Linked DNA regions of Homo sapiens: region 2 is linked to region 1. The links are contacts of gene promoters, found by promoter capture Hi-C in blood cells and fetal thymus (Javierre and others, 2016). All regions are on one chromosome and are shown on one strand. Each heading gives the region's core, a stretch centred on a gene start or on the middle of the fragment in contact. The rest is flanking DNA. Distances are from core to core; before and after follow the strand shown.

Region 1 (7,730 bases), core at 1,495-3,994:
AGAAAAATGAAATAAATAAGAATCTTCCTTAATGTTCCAGGCACCTACAAAACAAAATCTTCTTTAAACATTCATTAAAGCTAAATATTTTAAAACAAATATTTCCCTGATTAAGAGGTCATTTTTAAAGGATGGCTGATATATGCCAGCATAACGCCTCTATCAGTACCTAATAAATAATTAAAGGCAAGAAAGATTTATAACACACAAAGTTCAAAGATGATAGAATGTTTTCGTAAAGCATTTGATCAAGAATGTGGCCCCACTGATGAAGTTTTAACTTGGGTACTTCTGTCCTGATGACCGTGTCTTTGAATTCTATGTTACAAATAATACGAACTCATCCTCAAAAAAAGAAACGCTATTAAACTGGTCTTAAATACATACCCTGTGTACCTACTGAAATTAGACAACATCCTTTGACACTCAATGTCCTGCAGCAATAGGCTATGTAACAACTTTTCAAAGGACTTTAACATTACAACATTTAACATTACATGAAGGACTCTCACTTTGTTCACCAACAGTCATTAATGTTTATTATGAATTAATACTATTTTTCTAAGGACCCCACCTAAAATTTTTGTAAGGGGAATTAAGATGTTAACTGATTGAAAGTTATACTTAGGTTTATGATTAAGTTTATATACCAAAGCCGTAGACTGTAAGGCTTTTAAATATGTCTATGGCTTTGGTATATATTTTATCGTGTATTTTTCATATATTTTTCATCATGTAGCAAAAAGTATATCATAATAATTACTGCAGTAAGAAGAATTTGGGATGTTTTTAAATAGCAGAAAAGAAAATCAGTGTATCTTCACAACATTGGAACAGTAAAATAAAATTTCTTTAACTATGTTGTGATAAAGCAACTAAGTGGAACTAGGCCTCTCATATTTCTCAGACACAGCAAAGGATAAAGGAAACTAAAACACACACGCATACAAAAAATTTCATCAATCAAATGATCAGGCAACATCAAGATATTAAAGATCAAGATTATGGTCCTTCAGAAAACACAGGTCAAATATGCTACGTGGTATAAACATCTAAACCGAAGCAATCAATTGCACCTAGCTGCCCTCCTCCCTCTCCCCCGGCCAAAATAAAATAAAAAAAAAAAAAATCCATCTCCTTAGAATCATCCCTGCTCTTTAGAAGCTTACAGAATGAGGACACTGATTGACACCAAATAAATGTGCTTCAGAAACAGTGTTTTTCAAACTGCAAGTTGTGACCCACAAATCATCAATTTAGTAAATGTCAGCCAGCATTTTTTTTAATGCAAGAGGGTGGAATATAATAGAAATTAGCAGAACATATCACATATAATAAGGGTAAATACTGCTTTGTGAAAGTTTCCCTTCATACCTACGTATGTACTAGATCTGAATGTAAGACATACTTATTACTGTGGGGCATAATTTTTTTTTTTTTAAGTTTGAAAGCTACCACCCTAGAGATCTGGGTCTAATGCATCTCAGGACCCAAAGAGTGAATGTTTTCCTTAGTCCTCAGCACCTATTCATACTCTTTGCTCAAGATAGACTACTGGAAACGTAAGAGCTCCACAGCAGCATGACATGAACAAGGGACAAGCCCCAGCTCAGCCTGTATTTGGACTTGAAAGCATTACCAACTTCTCTCAACAGCCCTAGGCGTTGCCTACAAGCTCTTTGTAGCCTAGCAACCTTCACAGTAGAGCTCCTCCTTTCTCCACTGACTGTATACAGTTCAACACTTCCAACCAACTTTCCTCAACTACAACTTCTGGAATCACTGTGTCCCAAGAAAAGACTATTAAATCTCCTCTCTTCACCAATTCCCAGAATGTCTTCCTACTAGCGGACCTAGAACTCAACAGAGAAGCTCCACACAGATCCTTACTTCCCCCAAGATCCCACGACAAGGCACCCGCCTGTCAGTCCAACACCCTCGTTCTCAGTCTCCCAACCTTGGGGCAAATCTTTTCTCCCAAAAGCCCTTATTCAATTACCACATCCACATCCTTTTATCAGCCCCTGGTAAGAGCAGGCCTAATGTCCCAAGGGCCTAGACATGCCCGTCCTTCCCCCAGCAAACCTCCCTGGGGACATGTCCTCTTTTCTGGGATTCAGTAGTTCAGAGACAAGTTTCCTATTTCCCCAGCAGTCCCAGACACGTCTCCCTCTTCTAACAGCTGGGAGGCATCTACCCATCCCCCACGCTGGGGCAAGGTGAGACGCCTAGATTCTCCCAGGAACCCGGGCAGGCTCCCCAACACGCCCTCCTCCAACCCGGGACCAGTCCCCCAGCCCAGCCCAGCCCAGCCCAGCCCAAGACCCTCCCAGCTCCGCCATAGCCCAGGCCAGGCAGGCCCCATCCTCCCTCTAGCCCCAGGGCAGGTCTCCCATCCCCACAGCTGCTCGAGACAGGCCCCATGTGGCTTTCACCCTTCCCCGAGTGTCCTATCCCAGCACCCTGCAGGAGCGACCCTCCGCGCCTCGGCTCCAGAGGGGAACGCCTCGGGCCTCGAGAGCCCGGCAGAGCCAGCGGGCCCGGCTCCACTCACCCCTCAGCCCGGGAGGCGGGGGAGCTACTGCGGCGGCTCCTCTGGCTGCGCCTCTCCTCCCCCCTCCCGGCCACCGCTGTCGCCGCCGCTCAGCCTCGGGCCTGGTCCCGGCCAGCCCCGGCCCGGCGCCGCTTCACCTAGTCCCCCACTCTGGCCGCCGGAGCCCAGTGTCCTGCATTGACCCGGAAGCAGCTTTCCCGGCCCAACAACAACACGTGACCCCGCCGCACGTGTCACGTCCGCTGCGTGAATGGGAGGGGGCGCCGGAGGAGCGGGTCCTCCCCAACCGCGCTGGGGTTGCCATGGCGACGGGGATGGCTGCACTGGCTTAGGCTTTACCACAAACACCTCATCTGCTCTTTCTCGTGCCCACCCATTGAGTGGACAATCCCCAGGGGCAGAACAGGAGTACACATTGTCATATCAGAGGACAATAGGGGCTGCAGAAAAGAGCATTGGGCTGAACCTTTCCAGAAACACTTGGAATCTTGGCCTGGCTCTGTTACTGATTTGCTGTGTGACCTTGACCAAGTCTCTTCCTATCTCTGGCTTCAGTGTCCTCAACCATAAAATGAGGGAACTATACTAGATGAGCCCTCAGGGTATGGTGGCAGTCTGACCTTTCTTCTGTGCCCCCTTCACAAGTGGCATCCCGAGCTTCCAACACCAATGTAGTAACAGCAGCTTTCATTTATTGAGCACTTTCTAGGTACAGGCACTGCGCATGTGCTATTTTTAATTTTTACAGCCCTCCAAAGAGATGGTATTTATAGAATTGAAAACAAGTTCAGAGTGCTTAAGTGATCTGCCCAAGACCACCCAGTTAGTAAATGTGACCAGGGTGAGATTTGAATCCAGGTCAGGCTGGCACCAGGGTCCATGCACTTCACTTTATGCCACGCTATTGCTCCAACTCCATGCATAGTATTACTATATCTGACTGTTGAGCTGTGATTGCTTATGTACTCCTTCGTCCATTTCTTTTGCAGAAACATACATGGAATAGGCGTGGTGCTGGCTCAACCCCAAGTGAATTCAGCCTTGTATGGGAATGTCCCCTGAAGTGCTAGGAGATGAAGATGTCTTTGTGCATAAAGTGTATGTGCTTCTGTGTGGTGTGTGCCAGAAAAGACGTGGGGGATGTAATGTGCATGTGCATGTCTGCATTGGTTTCTAGAAGGGGGAAACAAAATTATTTAGGACAGACCCAATAGCACCTTACCATCATCAGTTCCTGGAGACTTATTTTTGTCATTCTGTTTTGTTTTCTCATATCCCATAGGTAGGGTTAGACAGGGTAGAGAGGAAAAAAAAAAGCCAGAAGGTCATGGGTAAAGAAACTGCTCTGAGTATAAAGGGGATGATTAGCCAAGAATTGTATCTTAGGTTGCTCAGGAAGGGGCTTTACTCCCCCTTCCACAGAGAACAGAGTGCCTTTCTTGGCAATTTAAGAATTACTGGCTTTCAGAGCACTGAGATCATTAGCATTGTGTCCGGAATTGGTGGGTTCTTGGTCTCACTGACTTCAAGAATGAAGCCGCGGACCCTCGCGGTGAATGCTACAGCTCTTAAGGTGGCGCGTCTGGAGTTTCTTCCTTCTGATGTTCGGATGCGTCCGGAGTTTCTTCCTTCTGGTGGGTTAGTGGTCTCGCTGGCTCCGGAGTGAAGCTGCAGACCTTCGCGGTGAGTGTTACAGCTCATAAAAGCAGTGTGGACCCAAAGAGTGAGCAGTACTAAGATTTATTGAAAAGAGCAAAAGAACAAAGCTTCCACAGTGTGGAAAGGGACCCGAGCGGGTTGCCACTGCTGGCTCGGGCAGCCTGCTTTTATTCTCTTATCTGGCCCCACCCGCATCCTGCTGATTGGTAGAGCCGAGTGGTCTGTTTTGACAGGGCGCTGATTGGTGCATTTACAATCCCTGAGCTAGACAAAAGGTTCTCCACCTCCCCACCAGATTAGCTAGATACAGAGTGTCCACACAAAGGTTCTCCAAGTCCCCACCAGAGTAGCTAGATACAGAGTGTCCATTGGTGCATTCACAAATCCTGAGCTAGACACAGGGTGCTGATTGGTGTGTTTGCAAACCTTGAGCTAGATACAGAGTGCCGATTGGTGTATTTACAATCCCTGAGCTAGACATAAAAGTTGTACACGTCCCTACCAGACTCAAGAGCCCAACTGGCTTCACCCAGTGGATCCCGCACCGGGGCTGCAGGTGGAGCTGCCTGCCAGTCCCGCGCCGTGCGCCCGCACTCCTCAGCCCTTGGGTGGTGGAAGTGACTGGGCGCCGTGGAGCAGGGGGCGGCGCTCATCGGGGAGGCTCGGGTCGCACGGGAGCCCATGGAGGGGGTGGGAGGCTCAGGCACGGCGGGCTGCAGGTCCCGAGCCCTGCCCCGCGGGAAGGCAGCTAAGGCCCGGTGAGAACTCGAGCGCAGCGCCGGTGGGCTGGCACTGCCGGGGGACCCAGTACACCCTCTGCAGCCGCTGGCCCGGGTGCTAAGCCCCTCATTGCCAGGGGCCGGCAGGGTCGGCCGGCTGCTCCGAGTGCGCGGCCCGCCAAGCCCACGCCCACCCGGAACTCCAGCTGGCCCGCAAGCGCCGCGTGCAGCCCCAGTTCCAGCTCGCGCCTCTCCCTCCACACCTCCCTGCAAGCTGAGGGAGCCGGCTCCGGCCTTGGCCAGCCCAGAAAGGGGCTCCCACAGTGCAGCGGTGGGCTGAAGGGCTCCTCAAGTGCCGCCAAAGTGGGAGCCCAGGCAGAGGAGGCGCCAAGAGCGAGCGAGGGCTGTGAGGACTGCCAGCACGCTGTCACCACTGCCAGCACGCTGTCACCTCTCAGCATGGCCACAGTCAAAAGTAGCCTCAGTGGTGAGGACCATGAGAAGAGCGGAGTAAAATGTACAAGGTGGATGCTGCATGGATACTCTGTTGACAGACTTACTTCTGAGCTCAGGTACCTTTGGGGACACCCAGAAACGCTTAAGAGGCTAGTTGCCCTGTGAGCAACTAGGAAAAAAGCAAGAAATATGGGTCATTACTGTTAACAAATACTATGTGCAACGTATATAAATACATATATGAGTATTGTATGTGGCTGGGTGTGGTCGATTATACACTTCTTTGTATCTCTGAGATATCCTCCAGTCATTTTTCTGCTTCTTTTCCCATCTTTCCCCTTATAGATGAAACTTCTAAAGACAAGATCAATGTCTCTACCCACCTCCCATCTTTCTCCCCAAGACAGCCAGAATTATCTTTCTAAAACTTACATCTGTAATCTCAGCACTTTGGGAGGCTAAGGCAGATGGATCAAGAGGTCAGGAGTTTGAGACCAGCCTGGACAATATGGTGAAAGCCCGTCTCTACTAAAAATGCAAAAATTAGCTGGGTGTGGTGGTGCAAGCCTGTAATCCCAGCTACTCGGGAGGCTGAGGCAGGAGAATCGCTTGAACCCAGGAGGCGGAGGTTGCAGTGAGCCGAGGTTGTGCCACTGCACTCCAGCCTGGGTGACAGAGCGAGACTCTGTATCAAAAAAACAAACAAACAAACAAACAAAAACACATATGTGATTGTGTTATTCTCTGGAACTTAAAACCCTTTCAGGATTCTCTGTGGGTCTCAAGATAACGTCTATTATTATTAATGTACTTCTCAAAATTTTTCCAGATCTGGACCCTGCTGACTTTTCCAGCCTCATTTATCACTGCTATTTGCTCTTCTGTATCTGCTCTGTTCAATCTGGTCGCCACTAGCCACATGTGGCTATTTAAATTGAAATTAATTAAAATTAAGTTAAATTCGAGTTTCATTTCCTCAGTCACTTGACACTAGTTACATTTCAAGTGCTCAATCACCATATGTGGCTAGTGGCTATCATATTGGACCGGGCAGATACAGAATATTTTCATCATCACAGAAAGTTCTATTGAACTGCACTGCTCTATACTCACAAACCTTCCTGTATGATATATTCTATAGGAATTCCCTCCACAAAGCCATTTACTTCAAATGTTCTTCTTTCACTTCCTTGAGACAGAAAATTATACATAATAGCTTATTTCCTTGTTGTTTCTTTGGCGAGCATGTAAGCCTCAATGAAGGCAGGAGTAGGTCTATCATGTTCACTATTGATTCCGCATTATTTCTAAAGGGCTATCATATAGGAAAAGGAGAGAATGGACGTTGAACTAAACTGAGAGAAAATAACAGGCAGATTTGTGGCCATTTTATTAGATATTATTATTATTAATTATCATTTTAGACAGGGGCTCTCTCTGTCGCCCAGGCTGGAGTGCACTGGCACAATCATAGCTCACTGCAGTCTCAAACTCCTGGGCTAAAGTGATCCCTGCTTCTCAAGTCTCCCAAGTAGCTGTGACTACAGGTTTGTGCCACCATGCCTCCCTAACTTTTTTTTTCTTTCTAGAGATGGGATGTCACCATGTTGCCCAGGCTGGTCTTGAGCTCCTGGCCTCAAGCGATCCTTCCACCTTGACCTTCCAAAGTGCTGGGATTACAGGCATGAGTCACCAAGCCCAGCCAAAAAAATATTCATAATTCGATCACTTTGACTTACAAAGGGCAATTTCATACAGTGCAACCTAATAATAAGGAAGAACTTCGGGAGAATTGGAGCTGCTTTAGTCAGTTCTAGTTAATTCTCTGCCATTGGAATAGGTTGAGCAAAGGCAGAATCTGTTAAAACAATATGTGAACAATTCCTGGATCAGAAGATTCGAAGTCTTCTAAGATTCTCAGTCTATGTTTCTCCTACTGGATCTTTAATTCAGAGTCGAATATGCCATAACAAAAATCATAGCTACTTTCTAAGGTTTTACTATGCCAGACGCTGCTTGAGACATTTTATGTAGATTACTGTTTTTCCCTCAGTCTTCACAATGATCTTATGAAGTATGCTTAATGCTATCAGATTTACCAACTAAGACTGAGGTTGTCATACACCCAGCAACATACAACTAGTAAAAGGCAGAGTCCATATTCACATTAGGTCAGTCTGAAATCAGCATTTTAGTTCACAATGACCCTGTATTATGAGATATAGTTCTGTCATGAAGTTTCAGCCAGATATTTATTTGCATGTCATTTTAATTTAACAATTGCTTATTTTGTAAGAGTTTTGTTCCTTGTACTTAGCTAGGTGGTTTGGGGAAAACAAAGA
Region 2 (7,730 bases), core at 3,563-6,062, 170 kb before region 1:
CCTGTACAGCCTGCTAAACTGTGAGCCAATTAGACACCTTCTCTTTATAAATTACCCAGTCTCAGGTAGTTCTTTACAGCAGTGCAAGAACGAGCTAATACATCTATGGATTTGCTCTAATATTTATTTACTCATTTTTCAAGGTAATCAGTTTAGCTTTTTTTCCATTTATGAAATCATGTGTTTATTTAAAGGCAGTGGCATCAAAGCCCTTGGTTGCTTGCTTTACATTGGTTTAGTGTCTACAAGGAATTACTTTGTTAAATTCAAACTTTTTTCCTCAGGGCAATCCTGTGTTTATATTTTATTTCTTAGTTCTTGATTCCAGTAGATTTTTACTCACTGAATTAAATCTGAGAGATTCATTGTTTTCTTTCTGATAGTATTTTCCAAATATCTCAGAATTAAGATCATTTTCTCTATCTTTGATAAAAATCTGCTTAGGGGTTTTAGTAAAGTGAATTTCCTTTTTTTTTTTTTTTTTTTACATTTTTGGAAGGAGACTGACTGTACCTTCAAGGGCATCTGGCCCACCTGGCTAACTCAGGGTTCCATGAGAAGTTGAGGCCAATGCAGGGGCCACCCACAGCCCTGGCCCTCTGCACTCCTTCCATCATCCTCAGCTGCACTTTGCAACATATAGGAACAAAATATCCTTGTGCTACCTTCACAAAACTAAAAGGTTCTGCCACTCTCATTTTTCCAACCCATGTACATTTACATTCTTCTGGTGAGAAGGAAAAACTCGGCCAGGTGCTGTGGCTCACGCCTGTAATCCTAGCACCTTGGGAGGCCGAGGCGGGTGGATCACGAGGTCAGGAGATCGAGACCATCTTGGCTAACATGGTGAAACCCCGTCTCTACTAAAAATACAAAAAAATTAGCCGGGCGTGGTGGTGGGCGCCTGTAGTCCCAGTTACTCGGGAGGCTGAGGCGGGAGAATGGCATGAACCCGGGAGGCAGAGCTTGCAGTGAGCCGAGATCGCGCCACCACACTCCAGCCTGGGCGACAGAGCGAGACTCCGTCTTAAAAAAAAAAAAAAAAAAAAAAAAAATCAACTTACAATAGGGTTGGGATAAGTAATGTGGGAATTGTTTTACAAATAAAACAATAAGAGCAGACTTTGCCAGTGATCAGTGACTCAAGTGCATGTTTTAGCGGTGGCATTGAAAGAACCCACTTCTAACAGCAGACCCAAAGATGAGGAGTTTTGTTGTTGTTTATGTTGCTGTTTCTATAACATGAGAGCACCTCAGAATGATACTTTCTGGTAGAAGACTTAGAAATACAACCATACATTTTACAAATTTTATTGTAAAATTTATCAAATCACCACACATTAAAGTTCTACAGTTGTATCTTCCTAACAAAGTATGCAAAACCCTAAGGCAGAGGACAGAGAAATAGTTGTTGCCGTGAGGTCTCTTGGTTTGCAAGAGTTAGGGGTGCCTCTTTGGGGATCTACCTGGAAAGTTGACTTTTGCCGAATTTGTGTTTCTGGAGTATAATGCCTAGAAATACAACAAAGTCCTTGTGGGTTGTGACTGTCTGAAACTATTCTTCAAAATAAGAAGCATTTAACTTTGTATGATGGAGACATGTTTTCCTGTGATTTAGGCAGCCTGTGTTTTCAGGGAAATTTGTCTAAACAAGATACAAATGTCAACTTAGTTTTGGGGTTCTACTTAAAATTAACTAATGAAAGTAATTTTGTATCAACATGACCAGGTTGAGAATACAAATAGAACAGGCTAACAACAGGAGACATGAATAAAATCCATAGTGGCCAAGTATCTCTAGACTCACTACATTCCTGCTAATCTTAAATTAATATTCAGAATACTTCCACTCTTCTTCTCTCTTGGAGATTCAAAGTAAGCATTTCAAATATGGGGCTTTTTTAGGGGGAAAAAATTGGGTTATGTGCTATCCACAGCCCTTTTTCTCATTTTATGCTTTGAATATTCTGATATGACACCTAGATGCTTCTGCATTATATGTTAAGTCATTTTCCCCTTGTCGAATTAGTTTGCCAAATTGCTTTCTGATCGTGACTTTTCAGGAGAGCAGACTCCGTCCCCTGCACGGCTGCAGATATTCCTTAACAGCATTTTGCAGTCATCAACGTAGAGACTCATGGAAAGTGTGAATAAATACACACTTGTAACTTCTTGATTTGAATGACCCACCTAGTTATATAAACCACATTTAAGGACCAGGATGGCCTGTTAAATTAAGAATGTTTTTGGCAGATAAAAGGGAAATACTAGGAACCTTGTTTTTTCTGCCTTTGGTTAACATATAATTAACTCAGTAACAAATTTCTATGTGCCTACAGTCTTGAAATTTAAATAATTCCACTAATACTAGGTTGATCCAACGCAAAGGTTTTCAAGCCTTAAAGTAATTAAATGTTATCTTTTTCAGTAAAATAATGTATTTTTGCCCAATTAAAATAGGGCAATATCGGTGGATTTTTGTACCCTAAAGTATTCCACAAAGGAATTCAAAAGTTAGGGGGAGAAAATAAAGAATTCTAAGTTTGTTTGTTCTTAAAAGGCTCAAAAGGTCACTATCATTCTAATATGTCTCATTAGAAGTTAAAAATTATTAAATAAACCTACACATAAAAGCATACATATATGAGTAGGTTTATGTTCTTCTTTAGTTAGTACTTTTGGATATATATAACTTCAACTTAGTACTTTTCCTCTAATTTCTCTGTCAGAATGCAGCATGATCTAGGACTGAACAATATTAAATACAGTGGCAAAGCATTTGTTATGAAAGATGCTACATTTGTGTAAGGGATTGTTATTTCGTCCAATAGGAGACTATCTTAATTTCAAAATTATTTCACCATCAGTATCTTATGCTACTGAACAAAACAACAGCTAACCTAGAGGCTAGATGCAAACAGAAACACACAACGAAATGTACAGTGAACATTCTTCCTCCATTTGTTTCCTTAGCAAATAGAATTTGATTGCTGAGTTCTTCATGGAATGATGAGTCTTTTGTATTTTATTTCTATCTATAGACACAGAGATCTGTCCCTCTGCCATGGAGATGTTGTCTTATATGAGAGTCGTATTTCAGCAAACATAATTAAACCATCACAAACAGAGCCTTCCATTAGTCAGAACAGAGTTATTGCCGTTGTGCTGTAGGTGCATGTGAAAGTATTTCACATTCTGCTGGGGGGAAAAGACCACTAAATATTGCATGGGTTTTTCTTGATCAGATTGTTTATTTCTCAACATCTTAAAGAGGTACTTAATTTTTCTTGACAGCTATTTTTGTCAACACATTAGAGAAACGGATATTAAGGGCAAAATTTGCATGGGATGCCAAGTGCTGGTATTTCCTGGAGTAATGCGTACGGTATGCATAAAAATAAATCCCATACTGTTCTCCAGAAAACGTCCTTGGCATTTGATGTGTTTTCTAAAGCTATATTCTCATAATGTCCTGCGTCTAAGGTTTCAGGGTGGTAGTGGGGCGGGGGACCGGAATCATAATTCGATTGGTGTGGTTCAATACACATTTGAGCTTCATGCAAAAATAAACAGCAGACACTAGAGGGCGCTGTTTCATTTCCTTTTTCACTGGACTGTGCTGCAGATGTCAGCGTATGGGGCACTGCAAAATATCATCATGGTCTTCTAAACAGGCCCAAATTGCAATGAAGTACAAGCTGTAGAGATCCCCTGAGTTTTAGGAGAAAGGCTGGGAAGTTCAAAACAGGGTGGATGGTAAATTAATTCAGAATTAGTAAAGAAGTAATTTTTTATTACCCTAGCCCTTCATGATTGTCTTTTGATAATTACTTAATTCCTCTGGTTGAAAGAAATTTTATTAGATTTCAAGCTCCCACTAAATGTCAAATGGTTCTAAAAATAGCTAGAATATTAGACAATGTTAAACAATTAGCGCTCTCAAGTTTTGTCGTTAGAATTTTGAGTAGAATACATACCTACTACTGGTTGAGAAACTAATTACAGAATTCCCAGTGGTCACAAATGTCAGACCCCAAGATGTTTCTTTTGATATCAAACAAATACCAAGTCAATAAGATTCCCAATTAACTTCGTTTTCAACCTTTGCTAAGCATGCACTTTCTCACCCCTTCACCCCGCAAGTAAATCTTTTAGAGCAGCAGGAAAAGGCAATGCTCTGAAGTTATCTTAACATATACTATCATATGGCTTCTCTTTGTAAAAAGAGAAGGGATTGGGTTCGAGGGGGTAGGAGAGTGGGTGGGGTTCCCCAGTTCAAGTGTCTAGTGCCACTTTGTGACATAAGAACATATGAAAAGAAGCTTCATGTTCTTATGTTACCTAGAGGAAAATTAAGGTATTGAGGCATGTAATAATTTGTGTTTCAAGTAGAGAATTAGTGGAAGAGTCAGGATCATCTCTCAGTTCTTCTGCCTTCCAGGAAGTCAACTAAAGGGCCCGTTTGTTTTCAGTTCTGTAGAAGTATTTCTCTTTAATCCAGATAGAAGTGACGGACTCAAAGGCAATGTGAGCACCATCACCACTGATTTCCAGTTCTTCTGCCTTCCAGGCACACGGGATGTTTGTGCTTCCTCATCTCTAAAAGTCAGTTACAGCCATCTGGCTGTCATTGACCAATGAAGTGGGAACAGAAGCGATATGTGTCACTTCAGGCAGAAGCACGGAAGAGCTACGGTGGGATTCTCCAGGCTGTCTTCCCTTGCAAAGGTGAATCTTGAAGCCACACATTGAGCTGACAACATTGAAGGATAATAAAGCCTCCAGCAACTTCCATTCCAGGATGACAATGAAAGCAGGGGCGACTTGTGTGAGTAAGAAAGAAACCTTTGTTAAGTCACTGAGATTGTGGGGGTGTTCTCCTTTTTTGAGACAAAAATCTCATTCTGTTGTCCAGGCTGGATTGCAGTGCCATGATCATGGCTCACTGCAGCCTCAACCGCCCAGGCTCAAGCGATCCTCCCAACTGAGCCTCCCAAGTAGCTGAGACTACAGGCATGCGCCACCACCCCTGGCTAATTTTTGTATTTTTTTTGTGGAGATGGGCTCTCACTATGTTGCTCAGGCTAGTCTCAATATCCTGGGCTCAGGTGATCTGTCTGCCTGGGTCTCCCAAAGTGCCGGAATTATAGGTATAAGCCACCACACCTGGCCTGGGGTTTTCTGTTGTGGCATTACAACCAGGTTTATCTTGATGGTAGACATGTGAAGGATGCCAACCAAGTGAGAAAACCAAAAGCCAAGAATGAAAGTGTGGCAAAAAGGATTTCAAGTAAAAAGCTTTAAGAAAAAAAACTAGAATTTTTAATCGAGGAATTTCTAATGACTTTAATATGGGAATCAATAAAGAGGTGTTGTCAAGTAAGTAATACACCATTTCCTCCTTGTATGTTTTCAGTTAAAATTCATCTAAAAAGGCAGGTGTGTTGGCTCACGCCCATAATCCCAGCACTTTAGGAGGCCAAGGTGAGTGGGTTGCCTGAGCCCGGGAGTTCGAGACCAGCCTGGGCAACATGGTAAAACCTCATCTCTACTAAAAATATAAAAAATTAGCTGGGCATGGTGGTGCATGCCTGTAGTCCCAGCTACTAAGAAGGTTGAAGTAGTAGGATCACTTGAGCACAGAAAGTCGAGGCTGCAATGAGCCAAGATCATGCTAATAGACTCCAGCCTTGGCAACAGGAGTGAGACCCTGTCTCAGGGGAAAAAAAAAAATCATCTAAGGATCTCAGGTAAAACCATAAATGACACATTATTATATTTAGCTCATAATCTGTTTGATTTCAAAAGCCTAAACCTTTAATGGCATGAATGGAAATGGTGCATAAGCTCATCTGAATCCTCTGATCTTGAAGTATGGGATAGTATGGAATCCAGGTTTTCATGCAAACAAAGAACACACACTTAGAGCAGGCGCAGTGGCTCATGCCTGTAATCCCAGCACTTTGGGAGGCCGAGGCAGGCAGATTGCGAAGTCAGGAGATTGAGACCATCCTGGCTAACATGGTGAAACCCCGTCTCTACTAAAAAAATACAAAACATTAGCGGGGCATGGTGGCGGGTGCCTGTAGTCCCAGCTATTCTGGGAGGCTGAGGCAGGAGAATGGCGTGAATCTGGGAGGCAGAGCTTGCAGTGAGCCAAGATCGTGCCACTGCACTCCAGCCTGGGCGATAGAGCCAGACTCCGTCTCAAAAAAAAAAAGATCACACACCTAACATCCATTTCTATCTTGCTGAGGACGAAGTACTGTGTCTCAGCTAGAATAGACAATGGCTTGACTCCTTAATCCATCTCAGTGCTCAGCATTTCCCCAAAAGATCTTAAGATGTCCAAGCAGAAGCAGACACATATTTTTCTCCATCAATACCAGTTGTCCGCTCAGCTGCACAGCATGTGTGACTGCTGAGATAAGCTCGAATGTGTTGACTCTCCCAGGGGGCTGGGAGAACAAAACAGCTCAGTGCACACTCAGTCTACACCGCACTTCTTCAGCCCAGTGACAGTGTGATGCCAGTGCTTTGACATATGAGACAATGGCCATTTCACTCACACTCATGTTCAAAGAACACTAAGCATTTTTGCTCAGCTTTTCAGCGTTCCCAGAAAAATATAAAAATGCTATCCGTTTAAATCCAAGACAACTTCAAAATAAACCTGAAGTGGGTTTTACTTTGTTTTTGCCCTTAGAAAGCAAAGCACTCCAGGGATATATTTAGCAGGCCTTCCATTTTGTAGTTAATTATAGCAGATACGTGTTTTTGTACCACTTACAAAAGAGGATGCTGCCTGCTTCTCTTCTACACCGAACCTTAATGCTCTGCTAATGCTCTGTAAGTACACATGAACAACAATATAATGGTGCATTAATGTTCTGGCCAACAGTGCCTTCCTGGTCCAATTGCTGCTACTTCTTTAAAAAAAAAATTCATGGCATGCTATTTAGTGTACAAAGCTTAACATCAATAAGAATGATTCCAGCCACCAAGTAATGAGAATACTTGAACACAAAGTTTATTTAAGGATAAAACACATTAAAAAGTATTTGGTTGATTTGTAAAAAGAGAAGGGATTGGGTTCGAGGGGGTAGGAGAGTGGGTGGGGTTCCCCAGGTCAACAATATCCCCAGTGGCCAAAGCTGCCATGGCAAGGTTGAAGGACACAGTGGGTGGAGAAGCGCCTCATAGACAGAACACGTGCATAACGTAGATCGGACACTTCCAAACACCAGCAAGATTCCTTAGAGGGAGTCAAACCTTCCAGTCATCACTTCAAAATCGTTCCAACAGGCCCTCTCTCTGTAAAAAACTGTGATCCAGAAATAGCACTGGCTTGACAGATTTCTCTGGTCAGATTTCCAGTCAGATTTCTCTAACCAGAATTTTTTTCCTTTACTGGTTTTTCATGTGAACCAAAGTCTCTAGTGACAACTGTTTGGGAATTTTACACAAGAGAGATACTTTCCATAACTGGCTTGTAGAAGCCCCGTTTCATACTCTGAAAGAGGAGCTTGGATGGTCGCTGGTTTCTGGACCTTGGACCATTGGAGGCAGGTGGCATCATTTTGAGATGCTGGACACTTTCAAATAGGTTTTGACTTAAGGGCACACACTTTTTATCCTACAGGGTGTTGAAGTAAGTAAATTACAGTACTTTATATAGCAACCTTGAGTTAATTATGAGGTCGTGCCTGATTTATAGACAAAATGCCATA

The links. Contacts are between HindIII fragments. The CHiCAGO score rates a contact against its expected background, and 5 or more counts as called.
Region 2: a fragment that was not itself captured here is called in contact with the fragment with the promoter of TBCEL in region 1 in 1 of 17 cell types (megakaryocytes); the score reaches 5.8 in megakaryocytes.

What each region holds. Positions count from the first base shown.
Region 1 is chr11:121,019,116-121,026,845 of GRCh38, reverse strand. It overlaps TBCEL (tubulin folding cofactor E like), which reads right to left and starts at 2,744. Exons shown (of 9, transcript NM_001363644.2): 1 at 2,555-2,744. It overlaps TBCEL-TECTA (TBCEL-TECTA readthrough), which reads right to left and starts at 2,744. Exons shown (of 30, transcript NM_001378761.1): 1 at 2,555-2,744. RefSeq lists silencers at 2,491-2,760, 2,781-2,930. The HindIII fragment of the contact is 3,156 bases long and covers 1,167-4,322 here.
Region 2 is chr11:121,190,769-121,198,498 of GRCh38, reverse strand. It overlaps TBCEL-TECTA (TBCEL-TECTA readthrough), which reads right to left. Exons shown (of 30, transcript NM_001378761.1): 30 at 7,009-7,730. The coding sequence ends at 7,693. TECTA (tectorin alpha) reads right to left here. Exons shown (of 24, transcript NM_005422.4): 24 at 7,009-7,730. The coding sequence ends at 7,693. Among named protein-coding and RNA genes, the nearest start is that of TECTA, 93 kb to the right of the region's middle. The HindIII fragment of the contact is 976 bases long and covers 4,325-5,300 here.